Regions from separate parts of the Homo sapiens genome. Here region 1 is linked to region 2. The links are contacts of gene promoters, found by promoter capture Hi-C in blood cells and fetal thymus (Javierre and others, 2016). All regions are on one chromosome and are shown on one strand. The core of a region is centred on a gene start or on the middle of the fragment in contact, and the rest is flanking DNA. Distances in the headings are between cores, read along the strand shown.

Region 1 (2,700 bases), core at 96-2,595, 200 kb before region 2:
CCACCAAAATCTCATCTTGAAATCCCATGTGTTGTGGGAGTGACCTGGTGGGAGGTAATTGAATCTTGGGGGGCGGGACTTTCCTGTGCTGTTCTCCTGCTAGTGAATAAGTCTTATGAGATCTGATGGTTTTAAAAATGAGAGTTTCCCTACAAAAGCTCTCTCTTTGCCTGTCGCCATCCGTGTAAGATGTGACTTGCTCCTTCTTGCCTTCTGCCATGATTGTGAGGCTTCATCAGCCATGTGGAATTGTGAGTACTCCCTTAAACCACTTTCTTTTGTAAATTGCCAAGTCTCAGTTATGTCTTGATCAGCAGCATGAAAATGGACTAATACATGTATTGATATCAAAACCACCAAAGTAGGAGCAGAAGTATAAGGATCTTGTCCCACTCATACTATATTGTACTACTTTCAATTTTGTCAATCAGTAGATTGTAAACTTTTTTAAGGAATAGAGTTTATACATCTTCCAAAGAACCCAGATATATGATGAATATGAAATTGTTACTCAACTTTATGAATTTTTGCATTCCTATTGAGCACTTTAGATTGCTCACATAAACATTAAACTAAAAAAGCAATCTGAGAGTGCTTACATTTCTCTTATTTTGGTGTTTCACAAAAATATTTGATCACTAGGTGGCAGCAATACGTAGAGAAGGAGCCTGAAGATCTGACGTTCGCTTGCAAAAAGTTGGCTCTTCTGCACAATCACAGCCAGCCTGTCAGCCTCCCGGTTGCTGTGATGGACCTGAGTCACTTCCCATCACAAAGAGCATTTCCCAGCTGATGCTAAGGACCCAAGGCCATAGCATCTGTCTTTACCTCCTCAACAGAATGGGTAGCTTGTCATTTGGGGATTTCAAATATTTTTAGTAAAAAATGTTACTGAATAAACAGTGGTACTTTAAAAGTGCTGCCCATTGATCTTAGGAGTGTTTCTATTTCAACTCCAGTAAGCTTGTCCTCTTTCTGTAGCTACATCATAAGCTGTTTCTATAGCTGTTTCTGTAGTTACATCATGAGCCCCTGTGAGGATATTTATTTTGACCTTTCAACATTTTTTACTTACACATTCTCATCATTCTCCAAATTGAGTTATAATGGTCTATGGAAGATAATTGTTTTAACCAGTCATAACACAGAGTATAGAACTAATGGAGATTTAATTTTTTAAATTTTAGATGAATTCACAGAGTAGGTGCAAAGACAGCGCAAAGAATTCCCACATACTTTCCTGGTAAGGATATTTTACCTCTCTGTATTCCTGGTGGCTAGCTGTATGCCTCACACTATTGAATGAATGATTTAATACCAGTGGCCCTATAAAATATTGTACCTGTTAATGGACGATGAAGAATGATGTTTCAGTCAGGTTGGGCTGCTACAACCAAATATCATAAACTAGATGGCTTACCAACAAAAGAAACTTATTTTTCATGGTTCTGGAGGCTGGAAGTCCAAGATTATGGTGCCAGCATGGCTGGGTTTTGGTGACAGCTCTCTTCCAGGTTGTAAACAGCTGACATCTCTTTGTGTCTGCATATAGCAGAAAAGAAGTGAACTAGCTTTCTGGCCTCTTCTTATAAGGGCACTAATCCCATTCATGGAAGCTCTACCCTCATGATCTATTACCTCTCAAAAGCCCCACCTCTAAATTCCATCATATTGGGAATTAGATTTCAAGGAATTAATTGGTTTTAAGGACATGCCATGGTCCAGATGAAGCTTAGAAACCAGTCACTATCCAAAGAAACATAAATTTGAAAGTCATTTTCATGTGCTTCTCTTATTATCATTTCAAGACCTCTTTCACATCTGCCTATTTGCATTTTATCCCAGTTTTCAACCATTTTTACACATTTACTATTTACTGCAATCTTTACTGTGATCTTAGGTGAAACAGACATTATTCTGTTGATTTTACAGACAATTGAGGTGACAGAGAGGTTAAGTAACTACATGAGAATTAAAAAGTGTAGAAATTTAAATAGTTTGACTTCAATTTACTGTTATTTCTTCTTTGCCTCATTCTTCTTACCTCAATACAAATGTAATGAGTGCTCTATTGAAAACAAATTTTAATCAGAGGTAAGAATGAGTTAAGCCCTAAGGCTTTGCACAGCATTTAATCTGAAAGCAAGAACCTTAAATACAATCCTCCTACTTTTTGAGTAGAATGGCTCCAGCTGTCTTGGCAGGGATAACCCCTTGTCAATAACATTTCAGAGTTTAGAGATTTAAAGAATTTATTTTCACCTGACATGCATGGCATACCTGAAACCACCTTTGCAAAAATTATAACAGTGAGAAAATTATGGCAGTGAAAGGGATTTGGCCCCCTGACTCCATTTTGCTTCTAACCTCCAAGCTGCACTTGTTCATTCCTAGGCACAGGCTAAACTAACTTTGGGAGGAACTTAGTTTACAGCTTAACTTTGAAACAAAGATAATAACAGCCCTTTCCGGAAACAAGCCCCCTTCTAGCCTGGGGACCAGACTGCCTTGTAAAACTAACATATTAGCCACAAGATTAGAAATTATGATTTAGGAGTTATGAAGCTAGAGGCCACAGTATTCCAAACGTTCCCAGTTGCTCCTAGGGATAGCATCACAATGGTAAATCCTAAGATTGATGCTTGAGATGTTTTTTAGACCCTTAGTTCTGATGCAACAGCTGGCGCCAACCAGATCAGT
Region 2 (2,700 bases), core at 105-2,604:
TGCCACTGAACCAGGAAGAAGTTAAGAAGGCTATTGTGGCAAGGGAGCTAAATAGTATATTTCAAGGGGAAGGATGTGGTCAACAGTGCTAAAAATTGTTAAAAGGGCAAATGAGATGAGGAAACAAAATATCTCTTGGATATAGAAATGGTAAAATCACTGGAGATATTGGCCATTTCAGTAGAATAATAAAGGCAGATGCTAGAACTGGGATGTGGTAGGATAAGTTTGAGGTAAGAAAATTGCAAGAAGTCCAGGTAATACTGTGTTAGAAATTTAGCTGTAAAGGAAATGGGAGAAAAAGTGATAGTAAGAGTATATGAGATATAGAATAGAGAGAATTTTTCAAAAAGGAGAGACTTTTGACTTGACTTAAAATGGTACCCCCGTTTTAAGCCAAGGGACTCCGATTTCTCTGCCTCCTTTCCAAGTTTGCTTATGTTTTCCCAATTTGTAAATATCAGTGTCAATTTCCCCACCTGCAAAGTGGGGATTATATTTTATAATGCTGCTATACATGGCTGCTAACTGGGAGCAAGTGAACTGTATGAGGACAATTCTGTTTTTCAACCACAATGGATGAATATTAATGTCAGATGGATTTTTCCTCTTATGTTTCCTTGTAGAAAAAGTCGTCCTTGGAGCAGAGGGTCTAAATATCAAAAGGAAGCTTCCAATTGACATAGATTCGTTCAGTTTGTGGAAATATTAGAGACATATAGATGCGGGTGAGAAATAGAATCCCAAATGAAGATAAAAGGATTCTATTGGCCATGGGATAACTCTACTAACATAACAAGAGAACACAGACATACAGATGGAATTGTCGAGGCCCTTTGCACATCTGTCCATTGGTATTCTTTTTTGTATTGCTTTGAAAGGGCTCTATATTATATGGACACTTACTCCCACCTTTTATTTATTTATTACATACATTTCTGTAGTTTGGATATTTTAATTTTAATATGTGATTTATGCCATATAAATTTTCAATATTTCTCATTTAACAAATGTTCCTTTTAGTTTTTATATGGCATACTCTGCATAGAAAGAATTTAACCATCTTCAACCAAAGCATATATAAATATTTTTCAACATTTTTTTCCTAAGACATTCTTGATTTTTTTCCACTTTTGAAGTTTTCAGATATCTGGAATCAAATTTATATTAGACATGACGTAGGAATCTATGTCCAGCCAACCTTCACCACCACCACCTCGGTAGTTGTCTTTAATTAGAACATGATGTTCAACCTCCAGGTTTTAGCCTCAAGCACCTAGCAAGTTGTGTAACTCCCTCAAGGAACACTTCCTTGTTGTGGATCAAAACTGCCCACCTATCTGTGAGGTGCTTCATCCCTGCAGTGGAAGTGAGGAGGAAGAAAGGTGAACTCCTTTTCTCAAGCACTTCTGCTCTCCTCTACCAGAATCACTCAGAATGCTTCCCGGGTGTATATTCTTGATGATTTTACTCATTCCTCAGGTTAAAGGTATGTCTTGCTCTTTTTATCAGGACTTTCTTATTATGCTGTGAGGTTGTGTCTCTTTAGTCACAAACTTTAAACTGTAAGTGATAAAAACATTAAACGTTGATGATTTTTCTGAGAGCTTCGACTAGATTACAGCTAATCATGAGACTCCATGCATCTGTGTAATGCCATATCACTCTTGAACATTCTGACCCACAGTGAGGAGGAGAAAGGAGTGGACAAGTACTGCATATCTGCAGCATGGCAGGCACTGTGCTGGCCATTAGCTGCTTTGTATGTTAAAGTGTTTAAAATTTGAAATTAATATCTCCACTTTACAGATAAGGAAAATGAGACTATTTACAGATCAGAGAAATTAAATATGCTACTGCTGGCCACACAATAAATTGGTAAAGGCTTGATTCAAATCAGAGCATATTCCAGAAACCCCATGCCCTCTCCTTTTTATTGCTCTTTAAGTATCACACCTTAATTAAGCAGGGCTCATCTCACAGATGACTATCAAGGTGATAGGACATGAATAGAAGATTATGGTTGGCACTGATGCAGGGCTACCCAAAATTCTTTAACAGGTAAAGGTCTTATACTTAACTACGAAAGGTAAGACTTTAAATGCAAACATCCCTGGAAGACCAAATTCAGTAATTTACATTCAAACAGGACAACAGTGCAGGCTTTGACAGGAGACAAAATCCAGAGGTTGGCATGAGGATAACAAAACGACAACTGCAGGCCAGACATGGTGGCTCATGCCTGTAATCCCAGCACTTTGGGAGGCTGAGGCAGGTGGATCACCTGAGGTCAGGAGTTTGAGACTAGCCTGGCCAACATGGTGAAACCCCGTCTCTACTAAAAATACAAAAATTAGCCAGGCATGGTGGTGTGCACTTGTAATCCCAGCTACTTGGGAGGCTGAGGTGGAAGAATCGCTTGAACCGGGGAGGCGGAGGTTGCAGTGAGCCGAGATCACGCCACTACACTCCAGCCTGGCTGACAGAGCGAGACTCTGTCTCAAAAAAATAAATAAATGAAACAAAAAATAAAATTACAGCTGCAGAACATGGCGAAAATATGGAGGAAATGGAGGGACACTGATTTCTTTGGCTCCTTTCCAAGTTTCCTTATATTCTCCTGATTTGTAAATATCAGTGTCAATTTCCTTGCCAGTAAAGTGGGAATAACATTTCATAGTGTTGCTGTCCATGGCTGCT

Evidence for each region. Contacts are between HindIII fragments. The CHiCAGO score rates a contact against its expected background, and 5 or more counts as called.
Region 1: a contact is called between a fragment that was not itself captured here and the fragment with the promoter of ADAM7 in region 2, in 2 of 17 cell types (megakaryocytes and monocytes). The highest score is 5.7, in megakaryocytes.

What each region holds. Positions count from the first base shown.
Region 1 is chr8:24,244,506-24,247,205 of GRCh38, forward strand. No RefSeq gene overlaps it. Among named protein-coding and RNA genes, the nearest start is that of ADAM28, 48 kb to the right of the region's middle. The HindIII fragment of the contact is 768 bases long and covers 962-1,729 here.
Region 2 is chr8:24,439,672-24,442,371 of GRCh38, forward strand. ADAM7 (ADAM metallopeptidase domain 7) reads left to right here and starts at 1,355. Exons shown (of 22, transcript NM_003817.4): 1 at 1,355-1,489. The coding sequence starts at 1,438. The region is part of intron 1 of ADAM7-AS1 (ADAM7, ADAMDEC1 and ADAM28 antisense RNA 1); the gene reads right to left. The HindIII fragment of the contact is 2,181 bases long and covers 669-2,700 here.